Linked DNA regions of Homo sapiens: all the other regions are linked to region 4. Evidence: promoter capture Hi-C in human tissues and cell types (Jung and others, 2019). All regions are on one chromosome and are shown on one strand. The core of a region is centred on a gene start or on the middle of the fragment in contact, and the rest is flanking DNA. Distances in the headings are between cores, read along the strand shown. Region 1 has its middle 13 kb from the start of RAB11FIP1. Region 2 holds the start of ADRB3 (adrenoceptor beta 3). Region 3 overlaps RAB11FIP1 (RAB11 family interacting protein 1). Region 4 holds the start of ASH2L (ASH2 like, histone lysine methyltransferase complex subunit).

Region 1 (5,269 bases), core at 1,470-3,969, 190 kb after region 4:
CATGTGCCACCATGCCTGGCTAATTTTTAAAATTTTTTTGTAGAGATGGGATCTCGTTGTGTTGCCCAGACTGATCTCAAACTCCTGAGCTCAACTGATCCTCTTGCCTCAGCCTCCCAAAATGCTAAGATTACCGGCATGAGCCACTGTGGCTAGCTAGTTGATTCTAAAATGCATATGAAAATGCAAAACTCCAGGTGGGGCGCAGTGGCTCATGCCTGCAATCCCAGAACTTTGGGAGTCTGAGGTGGCTGGATCACTTGAATGCAGAAGTTTGAGACCAGCCTGGGTAACGTGGTGAAACTCTGTCTCTACCAAAAATACAAAAGATTAGCTGGGCGCGGTGGCACTCACCTGTAGTCCCAGCTACTCGGGAGGCTGAAACAGGGGGATTGCTTGAGTCCCGGAGGATGAGGTTGCAGTGAGCCGAGATTGTGCCACTTTACCCTGGACTGGGTGACAGAATGAGACCCTGTCTCGAAAAGAAAAAAAAAAAAAAGAAAGAAAGAAAAAAGAAAAAAATGAAAAAAAGAAATGCAGAGGTCTAAGAATAGCTGGTAAATCTTGACAGAGGAAGTACAAAGCTGAAGACTTTACACTACTAGATATTAAGATGTGTCATGAAACTGTGGTAATTAAGACAGTATGGTATTGGTTCAGTAATAATGAAATAGACCAGGGAACAGAATAGAGTTCAGAAACATGATATTGACGGGCCCATAGGGGAAAGCTGGGTCATTCAATAAATGGCACTGGGTCTATGGGATATTGTAGGAGCTGAGGAAAAACTTTCCCTCTACCCGCTGAAAAACCAACTCACAAAAGGCAGATTAGGAAGAGAAATGGCCCACAAATGTTTTTAACGTGAACAGGAATCTTATCAAAATATAAGATCTCAAAGAAAAATGTCATTGATGCTTTTATACTATCTTGAAGTTACAGAAAGAATAGGGGCTTGGATTCATGGCAAAATAGTTTATGGGAGGGAGAGAAGAGAGGACTGGCTAGCAAAGGTGTCTTGTTATATGGAGGGGATCTCACAGGTTGGAGCCTTCAGAGAGAATAGGTGGTAAATGTTTCTTTCAGACCTTTAATGGTGTCAGACTCTCAGTTCATCTTTCCTGGATCCAGGCAAGGGAGGATCTCAGAGAAAGCCTGGCTGCATCACGCAGATTCTCAACAGATGCAAATCTCCCCGACAAAAGACAGCTTGGGGTTGGGCGCGGTGGCTCATCCCTGTAATCCCAGTACTTTGGGAGGTCTAGGCAGGCAGATCACTTGAGGTTAAGAGTTCGAGACCAAGGCCGGGCGCGGTGGCTCACGCCTGTAATCCCAGCACTTTGGGAGGCTGAGGCAGGCAGATCACCTGAGGTCGGGAGTTCGAGACCAGCCTGACCAACATGGAGAAACTCTGTCTCTACTAAAAATACAAAATTAGCTGGGTGTGGTAGCACATGCCTGTAATCCCAGCTACTCGGGAGGCTGAGGCAGGAAAATTGCTTGAAAACCCAGGAGGTGGAGGTTGCGGTGAACCGAGATTGCGCCATTGCACTCCAGCCTAGGCAACAAGAGTGAAACTGTCTCAAAAAAAAAAAAAAAAAAAGAGTTCAAGACCAACCTGACCAACATGGTGAAACTTCATCTCTACTAAAAATACAAAAATTAGCCAGGTGTGGCGGAGGGCACCATAATCTCAGCCAGTCAGGATGCTGAGGCAGGGAGAATTGCTTGAATCTAGGAGGGGGAGGTTGCAGTGAGCCTAGATGGTGTCCCTGCACTCCAGCCCGGGCAACAGAGTGAAATTCCATCTCAAAAAAAAAAAGAAAAAGACAGCTTGGTAGGACTCCTTCTGTCCACAGGTCCTCTGAACAACCATCTCAAAATATGTCAGACTAGGCCGGATGTGGTAGCTCATGCTTGTAACTCCAATATTTTGGGAGGCTGAGGTGGGAAGATTGCTGGAGCCCATAGTGAGCTGTGATCGCATCTCTGCCCTCCAGCCTGGGGGACAGAGAGAGATGCTGTCTCAGAAAAAATTTAAGGCGGGCCCGGTGGCTTATGCCTGTAATCCCAACAGTTGGGGAGACCAAGGCAGGTGGATCACTTGAGGCCAGGAGTTCGAGACTAGCCTGGCCACCATGGTGACACTCTGTCTCTACTAAAAATACAAAAATTAGGCCTGGCGCAGTGGCTCATGCCTGTAATCCCAGCACTTTGGGTGGCCGAGATTGGCGGATCACCTGAGGTCAGGTATTCAAGACCAGCCTGGCCAATATGGTGAAACCCCATCTCTACTAAAAATACAAAAATTAGCCAGGTGTGGTGGCTCATGCCTGTAATCCCAGCTACTTGGGAGGCTGAGGCAGGAGAATCGCTTGAACCCAGGAGGCGGAGGTTGCAGTGAGCCAAGATTGTGCCACTGCACTCCAGCATGGGCAACGACAAAAAAAGCGAGACTCCATCTCAAAAAAAAAAAAAAATGATAATGATAATTAGCCAGGTGTGGTGGTGCACGCCTGTACTCCCAACTACTCAGGAGGTTGAGGCGGGAGAATCACTTGAACCTGGGAGGCGGAGGTTGCAGTGAGTGATGGTGCCACTACACTCCAGCCTGGGTGACAGAGTGAAACCCTGTCTCAAAAAATTTTTTTTAAATGTCAAAGTATATTTCGGAGTGAAATCTTTTGGGTTCCTTCAGTATTCATATGGGGAAAAATGAATCTTGATCCCAACAGATACTATATGGTAGGGAAAATTTTGTGCTTCAGTGGAAAATTGCATTATCTATAGTACATTCTCTGGATTATCTGATTTTGATTCTATGATAGCTATTTTACAGCTCTGTGTCTGGTAGACAATTGAAAGCAATGCAAAATTCATAAAAGCAAATTGTCTAGTGGAGGGACACTCCCTGCCCCCTCCTCCAGAAAAACAAGCTTTGCCTCCATTTGCATATTCATTTCAATATTTCTGGTCTCTAAATGCGTCTATTCTTTGGATTCACCTTTGAACTGGTTGTAACACCTTACTAGTTTTTCTTAATAATAAGTGTAATAAAATTTTAACATGTTTATTTTTATGTCTGTATGAAAGTTCATAATTTTATGTTTTTTAAAAAATTAATTTTTGGGTTGGGCGCAGTAGCTCACGCCTGTAATCCCAGCACTTTGGGAAGCCGAGGGGGGTGGATCACCTGAGGTCAGGAGTTCGAGACCAGCCTGGCCAACATGGCGAAACCCCATCTCTACTAAAAATACAAAAATTAGCCAGGCGTGGTGGCTCATGCCTGTAATCCCAGCTACTCGGGAGGCTGAGACAGGAGAATTGCTTGAACCCAGGAGGCAGAGGTTGCAGTGAGGCGAGATGGAGCCACTGCACTCTAACCTGGGTGACAGAGCAAGACTCCATCTCAAAAAAAATAAAATTAAATTAACTTTTGGCCAGGCACAGTGGCTCACACTGTAATCCCAGAACTTTGGGAGGCCGAGGCAGGTGGATAACTGGAGCTCAAGAGTTTGAGACTAACCTGGGCAATGTGGAGAAACCCTACACCTACAAAAACTACAAAAATTAGCCAAGCATTGTGGCTCATGCCTATAGTCCCAGCTACTAACACTTGGGAGGCGGAGGTAGGAGGCTCACTTGAGCCTGGGAGGTTGAGGCTGCTGTGAGCCATGATCATGCAGCCTGGGTGACAGAGCAAGACCCTGTCTCAAAAAAATTAACTTTGAATAATACAAAAAATTAGGTGGATTGCTAATATAAAGGTGGAAGGCAAACCAAAATGCTTTTATAAGACAATAAAGGAGAATATATTCATGACTTTGAGACAGCAATGATTTCTTAGAAAGGACTTAAAGCACTAACCATAAAAGAAAAGATTGATCATTTGGGTGTCATTAAAATTAAGACTGCTTTTCATCAAGAAACACCACTAAGAGAGTGAAAAGGCATGCCACAGAGTGGGAGAGGATACTTGCATTACATTATAGACTTGATATCTCTATCTTTGTAATGACATCTACAAATCAATACAAAGACAGAAGAAAAATGGGCCAAAGATATGAGTAGGCCCATCACGAGAAAACCATATCCAAATGGTGAAAAAGCTTAAGAAAAAGCATACAGCCTCATTAGTCACCAGGGAAATAAAAATTAAAACTATTGCACAGCCGCCAGAAGGGTGAAATGCAAAAGACAATACTAAATGTCTTCATCTGCTTGTGTTACTATAAGGAATACCCAAGGCTGGGTAATTTATAAAGAAAAGAGGTTCATTTGGCTGCTGGTTCTTCTGGCCATACAAGAAGCATGGCACCAACATCTACTTCTGATGGGGGCCTCAACCTGCTTCCACTCATGGCAGAAGGCAAACGGAAGCCTGCGTGTGCAGAGACCATAGGGTGAGAGAGAAAGCAAGAGAGAGAGGGGAGGTAGCAGTCTGTTTTTTTTAATAACCAGCCCAGGCTGGACGCGGTGGCTCATGCCTGTAATCCCAGCACTCTGGGAGGCGGAGGCGGGTGGGTCACTTGAGGCCAGCAGCTCAAGACCAGCCTGGCCAACATGGCGAAACCCCGTCTCTACTAAAAATACAAAAATTAGCTGTGCATGGTGGCAGGAGCCTGTAATCCCAGCTACTTGGGAGGCTGAGGCAGGAGAATTGCTTGAACCTGGGAGGCGGAGGTTGCAGTGAGCCGAGATGGTGCCACTGCACTCCAGCCTGGGTGACAGAGCAAGACTCCGTCTCGAAGAAAAACAAACAAACAACAAACGAAACGAAAAAAAACGCAATCAGCCCTCACAGGAACTTACAGAACGAGAACTTACTCACTACTTCCAAGACTGCACCAAGCTGTCATGAAGTCTTGAGGGATCCGCCCCCATGACCCAAACACCTCCTATTAGGTCCCACCTCTGACACTGGGGATCACATTTCAACATGAGGTTTGGAGGGGTCAAATATTCAAACCATAGCACTGAGGCTGACAACCATGTGGAGAAACTGGATCTCAAACATTGGTGGGAGTATAAATTGCTATAACCTCTTTAGAAAATTGTTTAGCAATATCTCTTAGTGCTGAACATACACCCACCCTGTGATCCAGCAATTCCATTCTTGGGTGTGGGTGCACACTTATGTCTATGCACTGAAAGACAGAGGAGAATTTAGAGCGATTTCATTCCCCATACCCCTGTATTCGCTTCCTGTGGCTGCTGTCACAAATTACCACTAACTTGGTGGCTTAAGACAACAGATGGCCGGGCGCAG
Region 2 (5,113 bases), core at 438-2,937, 140 kb after region 4:
GCTTCTTGCCGTCTTCCAAGCTGGAGTGCAGTAGTAGCATGATCACAGATCACTGTAACCTTGAACTCCTGGGCTCAAGCGATCCTCTCCTCTCAGCCTCTTGATTCATCCTTTCTTTTTTTTTTTTTTTTTTTTTTTTCTGATATGGAGTTTCGCTCTTGTTGCCAAGGCTGGAGTGCCATGGTGTGATCTCGGCTCACTGCAACCTCTGCCTCCCAGGTTCAAGAGATTCTCCTGCCTCAGCCTCTTGAGTAGCTGGGATTACAGGCATGCGCCACCACACCTGGCTAATTTTTTTTTTTTTTTTTTGTATTTTTAGTAGAGACAGGGTTTCTCCTTGTTGTTCAGGCTGGTCTTGAACTCCTGACCTCAGGTGATCTGCCCACCTCGACCTCCCAAAGTGCTGGGATTACAGGCGTGAGCCACCGCGCCCACCTGTTGATTCATCCATTTTTAATATGTCTTTATAGCAGAAAGATTTTAAGAGAAGGGGCTATCTAGAAAATCTCTAGGTGGAAAGGTGCATGGAAGGGGCAGTGCAGAGTGGGGAAGATGGAGAAATTGAAATTCTTCAGCATCCCAGACTACATAGTGCCAAATCCAAATGCAAATCCAGAGCTAGCAATGAAAAAGACTCCTGGCCGGGCGCGATGGCTCACGCCTGTAATCCCAGCACTTTGGGAGGCCGAGGCGGGCGGATCACGAGGTCAGGAGATCGAGACCATCCTGGCCAACATGGTGAAACCCCGTCTCTACTAAAAATATAAAAATTAGTTGGGCATGCTGGCGGGTGCCTGCAGTCCCAGCTACTTGGGAGGCTGAGGCAGGAGAAGCGCTTGAACCCGGGAGGTGGAGATTGCAGTGAGCAGACATCACATCATTGCACTCCAGCCTCCAGCCTGGGTGACAGAGCGAGACGCCGTCTCAAAAAAAAAAAAAAAAAGAAAAGAAAAAGAAAAAGACTCCTGAGCCTCCTAGTGGTTCACGCCTGCAATTCCAACTACTCAGGAGGCTGGGACAGGAGGGTGGCTTGAGCCCGGGAGTTCAAAGCCAGCCTGGGAAAAATAGAGAGAGAGAGAGACTTGAAATATGGTAAATTTCCTCAGTACCTGAAAATATTAAAAAAAACAAAAAGCTAGAAGGAAAGAGAAGGTAACTGAAACAGAAGGGAAAGGGGACAGATCTCACCAAGCTGAGGTCTTGGGAGAGGAGATACTGGCTGAGCCCTATTACTTAATTTAAAATACCTTAGGGGAGGCCACCCAAGTGGATGCGGGGCTCCTGTGAATCCTTTGCTTGACTCCAGCGGGTTACCTTTGCCTCTGATACATAAAGGGTGGGGATGGGAGCGCTCTCCTCTCTCCTTCCCCTGCCTTGCTGTGGGAACTTCTGGGAAAGGAGGTGCAGGGCTCCAGGAAGCCAGTGCCCAGGGAGTGCTATGCTGAGTCCAGGAGCCTGGCCACGGCAGGGGTGGACAGATGGTGGCAGAGGAACCACGGTGTCCCTTCCTCCAGATTTAGCTAAAGGAAACGTGGAGCATCCCATTGGCCATCCTCCCCACTCTCCAATTCGGCTCCAGAGGCCCCTCCAGACTATAGGCAGCTGCCCCTTTAAGCGTCGCTACTCCTCCCCCAAGAGCGGTGGCACCGAGGGAGTTGGGGTGGGGGGAGGCTGAGCGCTCTGGCTGGGACAGCTAGAGAAGATGGCCCAGGCTGGGGAAGTCGCTCTCATGCCTTGCTGTCCCCTCCCCTGAGCCAGGTGATTTGGGAGACCCCCTCCTTCCTTCTTTCCCTACCGCCCCACGCGCGACCCGGGGATGGCTCCGTGGCCTCACGAGAACAGCTCTCTTGCCCCATGGCCGGACCTCCCCACCCTGGCGCCCAATACCGCCAACACCAGTGGGCTGCCAGGGGTTCCGTGGGAGGCGGCCCTAGCCGGGGCCCTGCTGGCGCTGGCGGTGCTGGCCACCGTGGGAGGCAACCTGCTGGTCATCGTGGCCATCGCCTGGACTCCGAGACTCCAGACCATGACCAACGTGTTCGTGACTTCGCTGGCCGCAGCCGACCTGGTGATGGGACTCCTGGTGGTGCCGCCGGCGGCCACCTTGGCGCTGACTGGCCACTGGCCGTTGGGCGCCACTGGCTGCGAGCTGTGGACCTCGGTGGACGTGCTGTGTGTGACCGCCAGCATCGAAACCCTGTGCGCCCTGGCCGTGGACCGCTACCTGGCTGTGACCAACCCGCTGCGTTACGGCGCACTGGTCACCAAGCGCTGCGCCCGGACAGCTGTGGTCCTGGTGTGGGTCGTGTCGGCCGCGGTGTCGTTTGCGCCCATCATGAGCCAGTGGTGGCGCGTAGGGGCCGACGCCGAGGCGCAGCGCTGCCACTCCAACCCGCGCTGCTGTGCCTTCGCCTCCAACATGCCCTACGTGCTGCTGTCCTCCTCCGTCTCCTTCTACCTTCCTCTTCTCGTGATGCTCTTCGTCTACGCGCGGGTTTTCGTGGTGGCTACGCGCCAGCTGCGCTTGCTGCGCGGGGAGCTGGGCCGCTTTCCGCCCGAGGAGTCTCCGCCGGCGCCGTCGCGCTCTCTGGCCCCGGCCCCGGTGGGGACGTGCGCTCCGCCCGAAGGGGTGCCCGCCTGCGGCCGGCGGCCCGCGCGCCTCCTGCCTCTCCGGGAACACCGGGCCCTGTGCACCTTGGGTCTCATCATGGGCACCTTCACTCTCTGCTGGTTGCCCTTCTTTCTGGCCAACGTGCTGCGCGCCCTGGGGGGCCCCTCTCTAGTCCCGGGCCCGGCTTTCCTTGCCCTGAACTGGCTAGGTTATGCCAATTCTGCCTTCAACCCGCTCATCTACTGCCGCAGCCCGGACTTTCGCAGCGCCTTCCGCCGTCTTCTGTGCCGCTGCGGCCGTCGCCTGCCTCCGGAGCCCTGCGCCGCCGCCCGCCCGGCCCTCTTCCCCTCGGGCGTTCCTGCGGCCCGGAGCAGCCCAGCGCAGCCCAGGCTTTGCCAACGGCTCGACGGGTAGGTAACCGGGGCAGAGGGACCGGCGGCTCAGGGTCGGGAAGCATGCGATGTGTCCGTGGGTCAACTTTTTGAGTGTGGAGTTTATTAAGAGAAGGTGGGATGGCTTTGCTTGGAGAGAAAAGGGAACGAGGAGTAGCGAACCAAAATGGGACCCAGGGTCCTTTTCTTTCCGGATCCAGTCACTAGGGTAGAAGCAAAGGAGGGCGAGCGGGCCGTCGTTCCTCACCCAAGGACCCAAGGTGCGCCACCGGAAAGCGCTGCGGTGTCCCGAGGACTCTCGCCTCGCCTGGTCGGCTTTAGGGATTTTTTTTTTTTTTAAATAGAGACAGGGTTTCGTCTCTGTCGCCCACGCGGGAATGCAGTGGCGCGATCTCAGCTCACTGCAGTCTTGAACTCCTGGCTCCTGGGCTCAAGCGATCCTCCCACCTCAGCCTCCTGAGTATCTGGGACTACAGGCGAGCCCCACCAATCCCAGCTATTTTTAAAATTTCTTGTAGAGATGGGGTCTTGCTATGTTGCCCAGGCTTGTCTTGAACTTCTGGCCTCAAGTGATCCTTCTGCCTCAGCCTTCCAAAGCATTAGGATTACAGGCCGGAGCCAGGGCGCCGGGTCGGCTCTAGTTTTGGTTTTCCAGCTCAGTTCTTTGCCCCCCTCCCCCGATTTCTTGCCATCACTAGACCTGGCTCGGACTTGAAGGCAGGGCTAGTGCCCCCCCACCCGCCCCCCAAGCCCTCGGCCTCAGTTCTGGGTTTTCTCAAAGGTTTGACAGCTGTGGAGGTGAGAATCCACTTCCGGTATGAAGTACAGTTGTGAGTGAGGAGCCTGTGAGTGCAGATGTGTGCCCTCCCGCTCCCTGGGCTGGGTTGGAGTAGGGATGGGGTGGGGCGTGTGTGGCTGGGTGGTGCCCTGGCGTTTTTGTGTAACTAAATATGCGTTCCAGGGTCTCTGATCTCTGTCATTCCCCTCAGTGCACCTGTTGCTCCTTTCACCCCAGGGTCTATTATCTCCACTTTTTTTCCCAGGGCTTCTTGGGGAGTTTCTTAGGCCTGAAGGACAAGAAGCAACAACTCTGTTGATCAGAACCTGTGGAAAACCTCTGGCCTCTGTTCAGAATGAGTCCCATGGGATTCCCCGGCTGTGACACTCTACCCTCCAGAACCTGACGACTGGGCCATGTGACCCAAGGAGGGATCCTTACCAAGTGGGTTTTCACCATCCTCTTGCTCTCTGTCTGAGAGATGTTTTCTAAACCCCAGCCTTGAACTTCACTCCTCCCTCAGTGGTAGTGTCCAGGTGCCGTGGAGCAGCAGGCTGGCTTTGGTAGGGGCACCCATCACCCGGCTTGCCTGTGCAGTCAGTGAGTGCTTAGGGCAAAGAGAGCTCCCCTGGTTCCATTCCTTCTGCCACCCAAACCCTGATGAGACCTTAGTGTTCTCCAGGCTCTGTGGCCCAGGCTGAGAGCAGCAGGGTAGAAAAGACCAAGATTTGGGGTTTTATCTCTGGTTCCCTTATTACTGCTCTCAAGCAGTGGCCTCTCTCACTTTAGCCATGGAATGGCTCCGATCTACCTCACAGCAGTGTCAGAAGGACTTCGCCAGGGTTTTGGGAGCTCCAGGGTTCATAAGAAGGTGAACCATTAGAACAGATCCCTTCTTTTCCTTTTGCAATCAGATAAATAAATATCACTGAATGCAGTTCATCCTCGGCCCCCTTTCCCTCCGTTTGTTTTCTTTTCATAATCCACTTACTCCCTTCCCTTCTACTCTGCGCTGGCTTTTGACAGAGGCAGTAAATTAGGCCTAATCCTCACTCTTTTCTTCCTAATCTTCATCAAACAAAAAATGAAAAGTCTGTCTGGACGAAGGGGAGTGAGCTTGAGCCTTTGATATCTTGCTCCCCCACCCTTCCTGAAACTCTTGAAATCCAGTTGCCATTGAGTAGCAAAGCCACGCTCCCCACAGGACTTGGACAGAGGGCCCACAGGGGGATGGGCTGGCTGTGGCCAGGTTTAGGGCAGGGGGCATTTGTCCCCTCCATGCTATAATCCAGTGGTGCCTTACATGGTGTGTGTGTGTGTGTGTGCGTGTGT
Region 3 (5,317 bases), core at 1,830-4,329, 230 kb after region 4:
TCATCTACCACTTCCCGAAGAGAAAGCATGAGAATGCATGCATTGAAGAGGCTGCTGGTAGCAGAGAGGAGAGGCCAGTTCATGGGGATTGTGAACATTGTTGCAGTTGCTTCCATTCAAAGGTAACTCCTCAGCCTTTCTCCTTTCAGGTGGTATAAGTTGAAATCCAAACCAGGAAAGAAGGACAAGGAGCGAGGAGAAATTGAGGTTGACATCCAGTTTATGAGAAACAACATGACTGCCAGCATGTTTGACCTTTCTATGAAAGACAAGTCTCGGAATCCATTTGGAAAGCTGAAGGACAAGATCAAGGGGAAGAATAAGGACAGTGGGTCAGACACCGCCTCCGCCATCATCCCTAGCACGACACCTTCGGTCGACAGTGATGATGAGTCTGTGGTTAAAGACAAGAAAAAGAAATCAAAGATCAAGACCTTACTTTCCAAGTCAAATTTGCAGAAGACGCCTCTTTCCCAGTCCATGTCTGTCCTGCCGACTTCAAAGCCAGAAAAAGTGCTGCTTCGTCCCGGAGACTTTCAGTCCCAGTGGGATGAAGATGACAATGAGGATGAGTCCTCCTCGGCCTCGGATGGTGAGTTTCTGCCTCTTCCTGCTTGACCTCTCTTCTTCCTCTTACCATGCTTCGTTCTGAGAGAGAAGAAACAGACAAATCTCAAGAGAAAGAGTTTAATTCAATTCCTCAATTACAAAATCATGGTGGTGGGGATGATGATAGCGGTGGTTAAGATGCCCTCTCTAAGGCTAGGCGTGGTGGCTCACGCCTGTAATCCCAGCACTTTGGGAGGCTGAGGCAGGCAGATTGCTTGAGCCCAGGAGTTTGAGACCAGCCTGGGCAACATGGTGAAACCCTGTCTCTACAAAAAATATAAAAATTAGCCAGATGTGATGACATACTCCTGTAGTCCCAGCTACTCAGGAGGCTAGGCTGGGAGGATTGCTTGAGCTCAGGAAGTAGAGGCTGCAGTAAGCTGTGATCGTGCCACTGCACTCCAGCCTGGGTGACAGAGTGAGACTCTGTCTCAAAAAAAAAAAAATGCCCTCTCTGTTTCTTTTTTTAAAATATTTTTTGTTTGTTTGTTTTAGAGACAGGGTCTTGCTCTATTGCCCACGCTGGAGTGCAGTGGCGCGATCATAGCTTACGGCAGCCTCCAACTCCTGGGCTCAAGGAATCCTCTCACCTTGGCCTTCTGAGGAGCTGGGACTACAGGTGTGCATCATCACACCTGATTAATTAAAAAAAATTTTTTTTTTAGAGATGAGGTCTCACTATGTTGCCCAGGCTGGTCTGAAACTCCTGGCTTCAAGTGATCCTCCTGCCTCAGCCTCTCAAAGGGCTCTTATGACCGGTGTGAACCATTGCCCATGGCTGAGATGCCCTCTCTATTTCTAAGCCCTCTGGTTTCTTTCCTTCTTTCTTCCTTCCTTCCTTCCTTCCTTCCTTCCTTCCTTCCTTCCTTCCTTCCTTTCTTTCTTTTCTTTTCTTTTGAGATGGAGTCTTGCTCTGTCACCCAGGCTGGAGTGCAATGGTGCGATCTTGGCTCTTTGCAACTTCCGCCTCCTGGGTTTAAGCAATTCTCCTTCCTCAGTCTCCCGAATAGCTGGGATTCCAGGTCCGTGCCACCACACCCGGTGAATTTTTGTATTTTTAGTAGAGTTGGGGTTTCACCATGTTGACCAGGCTGGTTTTGAACTCCTGACCTCAAGTGATCCACCTGCCTTGGCCTCCCAAAGTGCTGGGATTATACCCTCTGGTTTCTAAGAATGTATAAATTCCTTTTCCAGAGTTCCTGGCTCTATAAATGATGTCCACTAGTACAAGCTTTTAGAGCTAACAGAATGAGTGTCTTCCAAGTTTTTTTTTTCTTTTTTTTAAGGGTAAAACCATGGAACCTTATGGTAATTCTGATATTTCATTAATTCATCAGGTAGTTATTGAGTTCCTGTGATGTGCTCAACCCTCGTGGGATATAGCCTTATCAGAAGCCAAGGAATCTGCTTCCTTTAGCTCTGAGTTAATTATGTATTTTGAACTTCAATTTCAATGTCTAAATCCCTCCCATTGGCCGGATTCTGCTACTCTACCAAGAGTGCTGCCCTTTTCATTGGTTTAACCCAGAGTTTCTCAACCTCAGCACTGTGGACAGTTTAGACTAGACAGGCCTTTGTCGTGGGGGGCTGTGCTATACGTTGTAAGATGTTCAGTATCATCCTTGTCCTCTACCTGCTGGATACGAATAGCAGCACACCCCCTCCAAGTTGTGGCAACCAGAAATGTATCCAGACGTTGACAGATGCCCCTACACTGCAAACCACCCGTTTAACATCTTATCCCCTTTCTGTTCTTTTTCTTCCCAAAGTCATGTCTCACAAGAGAACAGCGAGTACGGATCTTAAGCAACTGAACCAGGTCAACTTTACCCTTCCCAAGAAGGAAGGACTTTCCTTTCTTGGTGGCCTTCGGTCTAAGAATGATGTCCTTTCCCGCTCTAATGTCTGCATCAATGGGAACCATGTTTACCTGGAGCAGCCAGAAGCCAAGGGTGAGATCAAGGATAGCAGCCCGTCCTCCTCCCCATCCCCCAAGGGCTTCAGAAAGAAGCATTTGTTCTCTTCTACAGAGAACCTGGCGGCTGGGTCTTGGAAGGAGCCTGCTGAAGGAGGTGGGCTGTCTTCTGACAGGCAGCTCTCCGAATCTTCCACCAAGGACTCCTTGAAGTCTATGACCCTGCCGTCCTACCGACCTGCCCCACTGGTCAGTGGGGACCTCAGGGAAAACATGGCCCCCGCAAACTCAGAGGCCACAAAAGAAGCTAAGGAGAGCAAGAAGCCAGAGAGCAGGAGGTCCTCTTTGCTGTCTCTGATGACGGGGAAGAAGGATGTGGCTAAGGGCAGTGAAGGTGAAAACCCTCTCACGGTCCCAGGGAGGGAGAAGGAAGGCATGCTGATGGGGGTTAAGCCGGGGGAGGACGCATCGGGGCCTGCTGAAGACCTTGTGAGAAGATCTGAGAAAGATACTGCAGCTGTTGTCTCCAGACAGGGCAGCTCCCTGAACCTCTTTGAAGATGTGCAGATCACAGAACCAGAAGCTGAGCCAGAGTCCAAGTCTGAACCGAGACCTCCAATTTCCTCTCCGAGGGCTCCCCAGACCAGAGCTGTCAAGCCCCGGTGAGTTTTGGCTCTTCTCGTGCAGGGCATTTCTGCCTTGCCATTGGTGGTTTTCAGGCTTACGTTAGACCAGCTCTTGTGGGTCCCATGATATCATAGTACCCATATATGCCAAAGGTTTGCTGGTCTAAATTATTTTTTTAACCAGTCCCTACTGCCAGCCTGGCCTGCCCTGTATAAATTGCAGTGATGTTTCCCAGCTCAGAGCTACTGCCCAGCAGGCATGGTCTGTCCTTTCAGTCAGCTTATCAGATCTCAGTGGAACGCAGTGGTTTGTAGCAGATTGTGGGTGTTGCAAGTTGGGAATACTGAGTTTGGGTTGTAGTGTATGCAGAACCTGTGTTTTCGAAGTTCTTATCTCACATTTCCCTTTGAGCCAGATGTTATCCTGCCTCCTTGCCTTTTGGCATTGGTTTCTGGTATGAGAGACCCTCGGTCCTCTCTCAAGTGACAGTGACGGTTCTTTGTGTCCACTCTGCCCCTTGTTGTAAGAGCCGGCATAAGCCTTGGGGACTGGCCTTGGGGACTTCTGCTTTTCTGTGTGATCACATTCATACTGACAATATTTCTGCGGTCTGGGGAGTGAGATTTTTTTTTTTAGAGATTCTGCTTACTTTGACATGCACACACACACACACACACATATACACACACATACACACTGTTCCTCTTAAACTTATCTGTGCCTGTTGCTTTGTGTTACATCTTTAACCACTTTAAACCTTTTAGGTGCATTTTGTCCTGTAATAATCAAATGCTCGGGCCTTGTGTTAATCACCACAAGAAACCAGAGGCTATTGCTTTACCGGGATCTTTTCATTTCTATTGCAACAGACTTTTGTGTGACGGATCTGCTTGGTTATAAAAGTGTCTGTTGTGTATGTTAAGTGTTAGTGTTCCTTTTTTTTTTTGAGACAGTCTCCCTCTATCGCCCAGGCTGGAGTGCAGTGGCACGATCTCAACTCACTGCAACCTCCACCTCCCAGGTTCAAGCAGTTCTCCTGCCTCAGCCTCCCGAGTAGCTGGGACTACAGGTGCACACCACCACACCCGGCTAATTTTTGCATTTTTCAGTAGAGATGAGGTTTCACCATGTTGGCTGGGCTGGTCTTGAACTCCTGACTTCAGGTGATCCGCCTGCCTCGGCCTCCCACAGTGCTGGGATTACAGGCGTGAGCCACCGCGCCCGGCTAGCGTTCCTTTTTTAACTTCTTAAGGTACTGCCCCACGTGTAAAGACGTTCTCCCCTGGTGAATGACTTGTTTTTGTGTATTTTCTTTGTCTCTCGTGATGCATCTGCACTGACCTGCAGATTTTATTTTGTCCTTTTTGCAGACTGGAAGTGTCTCCAGAGGCGCAACCCACAGCCAGGCTTCCTTCCCCTACTGACTCCCCTTCCTCTCTTCCTCCTCTTCCTTCTAGCTCTGGCCAGGCATCTGTCCCCTCTGAATTGGGACATGGTGCAGACACACAGTCCTCTGAGAGTCCTTCTGTCTTCTCCTCTCTCTCATCTCCCATAGCAGCTCCCATTTCCACATCCACTCCAATTGAAAGCTGGCCTCTCGTAGACAGGGGCCAGGCCAAGTCTGAAGGACCACCCTTGCTCCCTAAGGCAGAGTTGCAAACTGAGAGTTTAACACCGGTTCCAAATTCTGGTTCTTCTGCCCTGGGATCACTTTTCAAACAGCCATCCTTTCCAGCAAATAAAGGGACAGAAGATTCTCTGATGGGCAGGACCCGTGAGACAGGCACAGAGAAGAACACCAGCAGCCTTGAGTTGGAGGAGTCTCTCCCAGAGCAGCCTGAAACAGGGCGACAAGAGGAAGAACTTCCGAGATTCCCCTGCAAAAAACAAGACTACAGCCCATCATCTGGAGAAGCCCAGGAAGTACCGTTTGCCCTTTCACTCAGCAGTGATGGAGCTGTGAGCCCTGTTGGGGAGCTTGCAGCAGGAGGAGACAGAGACTTGGAGAGTCAGGCTGGGTCTCTTGTGGAGAGCAAAGCCAGGGATGCAGCTGAAGAAGTGGCGCCCCCTCTTCCCATGGGAGCATCAGTCCCTTCCATTGATTCCATGATGCGGAAGCTGGAAGAGATGGGTCTGAACCTCCGCAAGGACCAGAAGAAAACCAAG
Region 4 (5,352 bases), core at 412-2,911:
CAAAAACTATGAAAAGTACTCACGAGGTATCTATGCCAAATGTGTCAGCCGTGAACCATTTTGTACAAATCCCACATTGCAGCTCTACCTCACCCAACTGTCGGCCATTCTCTTCATCCACGGAGCCCGCCTGAGTATCCATCACCTCTGATGTATCCCCAGCACCTTCCTGTGTCAGAGCAGTTCGAGACTCAAATCAGTTGACTTGAATGTATTTTACTTTATTTTATTTTTTTAAGAGACGGGGGTCTCCCTATGTTGCCCAGGCTGGTCTCAAGTGATCCTGAGGTCTCAGCCTCCCAAAGTGCTGGGATTACAGGCATGAGCCACCGTGCCTGGCCTGAATGTATTTTTGATTCGCTTAAAAATGTAAAAACAAGGCCGGGCGCGGTGGCTCACGCCTGTAATCCCAACACTCTGGGAGGCTGAGGCGGGAGAATCAACTGAGGTTAGGAGTTCGAGACCAGCCTGGCCAACATGGTGAAACCCCGTCTCTACTAAAAAGACAAAAAAAAGAAGCCAGGTGTGTTGGCAGATGCCTGTAATCCCAGATACTCGGGAGGCTGAGGCAGGAGAATCGCTGGAACCCGGGGGGAGGAGGTTGCAGTGAGCCGAGATCGCGCCACTGCATTCCAGCCTGGGCGACAGAGCAAGGCTCCGTCGCAACAAAAAAAAAAAAAAAAGAAGAAGAAGAAATAACTAAAACAAACCCTATTTTGTCTTGCAAACAACTAAAAATACTTACTAGTGTATCTTTTCCATTAGATGATTCTGTCTCCAAGCCACCGCTTACATCGACCAAGTTTGCCTCCCTATAAGATAATGAAAGCGCTCAAGTAAGAATTCTCAAGACAAACCTCAAAATGCCTATTCCCAAAAATGATGATCAAATTACAGCCGAACTTCATACTCCTGCAGCTTTTTCAGCTAAGCCTGATCTCAGACTGGATGCCCAAGGTACTGTCAGGATACTGAGAAGGTGGACATGTCAGACAGTCGCGGACCCACGGAGCACAGGGAAGCCTAACCGGCCTTTACAGTCAAATCTACCTGGGTTAGAGTTGGTCCTGGGAGAGGTTCAAAGAGAGGCAGCTCTCCCACCCTGTTTTCAGAGTGACCGTTACTTCTTCCAGTCTGGCACTGCAAAGTGGTTTCTTTTCTGGAATATGTGAAGGCCTCCCGTTAAAGTGTGAGCTACCAGCTTCCTGCCAGGGTGCAAGGATCAGAGATAACGACAGGAGCCTCAGCTCCCACCGCCCGTGAAAGGTGCGGAAGGGGCGTTATCCGAGATATGCTTGAGAGGGGACGGGCCAAGCGGCGCAGAGGCAGGGCGAGCCATTGGCGGCGGGGCCTGGGTTCGCAGGGGGCGGGCGGCAGGGCTCCAGGAGCCGCGGGATTCGCGAGGGGCGGGCCTCCCTCCCGCGTCTTCCTCGGGCGGCAGGACCTCTTACCCGCCTTCAGCCTCCCCGGAACTGGGCTCAACTGTCGGAGCAGCAGAGATCCCCTCTCCAGGAGGAGCGGCTGCTCCCGCTGCCACCGGCTTCATCTCCCCCTCTTCTGCCCCTGTTGCATTTGCGACCGCTCCTGGGCCAGGCCCGGCACCCGCTTCCTGGCCAGGTCCTGCTCCTGCCGCCGCCATCACGGCCACCCCTGGACTTCTCGCGAGAATACTCTCTTCTCTCGCGCGCGTTGCTGTGTGACGCTGTAGTCTTCAAACAGAAAAAGCCCGCGGTGCGTCCACCGCCTGCCTGAGGAAGCATAATTCCACGACCGCTTTAAGGCCAGGCGCGCGGGCAGAGGTGGGCCGGCCTCCCGCGCCGGCGGTGGCCGCGGGCCTGGCAGGCTGAAGGTGGAGGAAGCTAGATGGTTAGTGCGGCTCTCTGGAGGACTTCCTTTCGAGTCAGGGACTGACGCGGCGTATTTTCGTGGCTACGACTGGATATTCTGCGCAGAAGAGGGTCCTTGAGAGCGCTGGCCGTGCCGTGCCGCCAAACACTCCTCACCACCGAATGTGGGAAACGTCTTCCTTGGAGTCTAGCACTCCCTGCCCGCCCCGGATGGAATTTGGTTTTCTGCGCAGGGTCGCCCCTTGGAGCCCGTTTCCAAATGATTTTAAGAGGGAAGGGAATCTAGGGAGGCCGATTCCAGGGGCGAGGGTGGAAAACCCAGGCCGGGCAGCCGAGGAGCGGCGTGGGCACTAGAAGCGGCTCGCCGCTTCCTACTGTGAGAGGCGGAAAGCGAAGCCCCGGGGTGTGCCGGGGCACTCGGAATGTAGACAAGTTTGGTGCCCAGCGAAAGGAAGAGGTGTGGACTGAAAGTACGAACTTGGGAAGTCATCAACAGTAGCTGGTGGCTGGCATCAGTGGAGTGAGTTGAGTCTTTCAGAGCCATGGTCTCCAAACTCGAGAATGCAAACCTCTGAGAGTGTTGCGGCCAGGAACGTTTTCAGGACACCAGTGTTTATCCTATATCCTAAAATGTTGCCTAACGATAATACACTCTTCTCCCGCTTTACACAAGAACGGCGCACCCCTCGCCAATCCTCAGTCTAATCTTACTGTGATGTGTCCACCGATAGTGTAGGAATCTCTGGGCCACTGGACGCCATGGGAAATACGTAGATATTGATTTCCCAATTGGTTCTCAATTATTGGTTTTCAACAAAATTGAAGAAAGACCTAACTGAGTTGCCAGGTTACATTTTTAAAATTGATGATAAATACTTAAATCAGGGGTTGGTACTCCAAAGAGAAGCAGGATGCTTGATCTAAGTATCTCCTCCCAAATACGTAGTATTGTAGCAGTTTTAACATATGGTCGCAGAATTTTGTGTTTTCTTGTTGTTGTTTGTTTGAGACAGAGTCTCGCTCTGTCGCCCAGGCTGGAGCGCAGTGGCCCGATCACGGCTCACTGCAACCTCCACCCCAGGTTCAAGCGATTCTCCTACCTCAGCCTCCCGAGTAGCTGAGATTACAGGTATCTGTCACCACGCCCGGCTAATTTTTGTTAGTAGAGGCGGGGTTTCACCATGTTGGCCAGGCTGGTGTCGATCTCCTGACCTCAAGTGATCCACCCACCTGGGCCTCCCAAAGTGCTGGGATTACAGGTGTGAGCCACCGCGCACGGCTTTTTTTTTTTTTTTTTGAAACGGAGTCTCGGTTTGTCGCCCAGGCTGAGTGCAGTAGCGCGATCTCAGCTCACTGCAACCTCCACCTCGCGGTTTCGGGTTCAAGCGATTCTCTTGCCTCAGCCTCCCGAGTTGCTGGGATTACAGGCACGCGCCATGACGCCTGGCTAATTTTTGTATCTTTAGTAGAGACGGGGTTTCACCTGTGTGTTTTTTTTTTTTTTTTCTGAGACAGAGTCTCGCACTGTCGCTCAGGCTGGAGTGCAGCAGTGGCGGCATCATACCTCACTGCCGCCTCAAGTTCCCCGGGTAAAGCAATCCTCCTGCCTTAGCCTCCTGAGTAGCAGGGACTATAGGCACGAGCCACCACGCCCAGCTAATATTCTTTTTTTTTTTTTTCTTTTTGAGACGGAGTGTTGCTCTGTCGCCCAGGCTGGAGTGCAGTGGTGCAATCTCCGCTCACTGCAAGCTCCACCTCCCGGGTTCACACCATTCTCCTGCCTCAGCCTCCCGAGTAGCTGGGACTACAGGCGCCCGCCACCGCGCCCAGCTAATTTTTTGTATTTTTAATAGAGACAGGGTTTTTGCCGTTTTTTAGCCAGGATGGTCTCAATCTCCTGACCTTGTGATCCGCTGCCTCGGCCTCCCAAAGTGCTGGGATTACAGGCGTGAGCCACTGCTCCCGGCACGCCCAGCTAATTTTCTTAATTTTTAGTAGAGACAGGGTCTCATCATGTTGCTCAGACTAGTCTCCAACTCCCGAGCTCAAGCGATCCTCTTGCCTGGGCTTTCCAGCGTGCTGGGATTACAGGAGTGAGCCATCATGCCTCCACACAAATTCTTTAATACCCCCCTCCCCTTGATTGTGTGGGCTGGACTCAGTGACTTGCTTCTAACTAATAGAATGTAGAAAAAGAAAATAACATGGCCAGACGCGGTGGCTCATGCCTGTAATCCCAGCACTTTGGGAGGCCGAGGCGGGCGGATCACCTGAGGTCAGGAGTTCGAGACCAGCCTGACCAACATGGAGAAACCCCGTGTCTACTAAAACTACAAAATTAGCCAGGCGTGGTGGCGCATGCCTGTAATCCCAGCTACTCAGGAGGCTGGGGCAGGAGAATCACTTGAACCCGGGAGGCGAGGTTACAGTGAGCCGAGATCGCGCCATTACACTCCAGCCTGGGCAACAAGAGTGAAACTACGTCTCAAAAAAAAAAAAAAAAAGAAAAAAATAGTAATTTTTATTTTTTATTTATTTTCTTTTTCCTCTTGGTAGAAAATAGTAGTTTTTACGGTGCAGAAATGGGCGAACACACCACCTTACCCAAGTGGTCAGGTTAATATAACCAGTTAAAAATTATAGGCCGGGCGCAGTGGCCTACGCCTGTAATCCCCGCACTTTGGGAGGCCGAGGCAGGTGGATCACGAGGTCAGGAGATCGAGACCATCCTGGCTAACAAGGCAAAACCCCGTCTCTACTAAAAATACAAAAAATTAAGCGGGCGTGGTGGCGGGCGCCTGTAGTCCCAGCTACTTGGGAGGCTGAGGCAGGAGAATGGCGTGAACCCAGGAGGTGGAGCTTGCAGTGAGCTGAGATCGCACCACTGCACTCCACCCTGGGGGACAGAGCGAGACTCCGTCTCAAAAAAAAAAAAATTATAAATATACCCCCCGATATACAATGAGATGGCAACTTCATCTCTTTGGTATTCCCCAAAATCCATAATCCAAGTCTAATCAAGAGAAAGCATCAGATGAATCCAAGTTGAAAGACATTCTAGAAAATATGTTGGCTGGGTGCAGTGGCTCATGCCTGTAATCCCAGCACTTTGGGAGGCCAAGGCAGGAGGCAGGAAGATTGCTTGAAGCTAGGAGTTCAAGACCAGCCTAGGCAGCAAAGCAAGACCCTGTCTCTATAAATTTTTTTTTTTTTTTGAGACAGAGTTTTGCTCTTGTTGCCCAGGGTGGAGTGCAATGGCGTGATCTTGGCTGACTGCAACCTCCGCCTCCTGGGTTCAAGCGATTCTCCTGCCTCAGCCTCCTGAGTAGCTGGGATTACAGGCATGCACCACCATGCCCAGCTAATTTTGTGTTTTTAGTAGAGATGGGGTTTTTCCATGTTGGTCAGGGCTGGCCTGGAACTCCCGACCTCAGGTGATCCACCTGCCTCGGCCTCCCAAAGTACTGAGATAACAGGTACCCACCACCACACCAGGCTAATTTTT

Evidence for each region. Contacts are between HindIII fragments. The study calls those that stand out against the background at their distance.
Region 1: a fragment that was not itself captured here is called in contact with the fragment with the promoter of ASH2L in region 4 in 2 of the 25 tissues and cell types used here (aorta and liver).
Region 2: a contact is called between the fragment with the promoter of ADRB3 here and the fragment with the promoter of ASH2L in region 4, in 2 of the 25 tissues and cell types used here (adrenal gland and bladder).
Region 3: a contact is called between a fragment that was not itself captured here and the fragment with the promoter of ASH2L in region 4, in 2 of the 25 tissues and cell types used here (aorta and spleen).

Annotation. Positions count from the first base shown.
Region 1 is chr8:37,909,722-37,914,990 of GRCh38, reverse strand. No RefSeq gene overlaps it. Among named protein-coding and RNA genes, the nearest start is that of RAB11FIP1, 13 kb to the right of the region's middle. RefSeq lists an enhancer at 4,113-4,612. The HindIII fragment of the contact is 7,181 bases long and covers 1-5,269 here.
Region 2 is chr8:37,963,173-37,968,285 of GRCh38, reverse strand. It overlaps ADRB3 (adrenoceptor beta 3), which reads left to right and starts at 1,687. Exons shown (of 2, transcript NM_000025.3): 1 at 1,687-3,021; 2 at 4,047-5,113. The coding sequence starts at 1,817. The coding sequence ends at 4,068. RefSeq lists an enhancer at 1,954-2,688. The HindIII fragment of the contact is 25,598 bases long and covers 1-5,113 here.
Region 3 is chr8:37,872,384-37,877,700 of GRCh38, reverse strand. RAB11FIP1 (RAB11 family interacting protein 1) reads left to right here. Exons shown (of 6, transcript NM_001002814.3): 2 at 150-592; 3 at 2,379-3,186; 4 at 4,522-5,317. Among named protein-coding and RNA genes, the nearest start is that of RAB11FIP1, 24 kb to the left of the region's middle. The HindIII fragment of the contact is 6,711 bases long and covers 1-5,317 here.
Region 4 is chr8:38,101,838-38,107,189 of GRCh38, reverse strand. It overlaps ASH2L (ASH2 like, histone lysine methyltransferase complex subunit), which reads right to left and starts at 1,661. Exons shown (of 16, transcript NM_004674.5): 1 at 1,452-1,661; 2 at 746-812; 3 at 24-169. The coding sequence starts at 1,639. RefSeq lists silencers at 1,274-1,473, 1,804-1,893, 4,075-4,363 and an enhancer at 1,564-1,693. The HindIII fragment of the contact is 26,659 bases long and covers 1-5,352 here.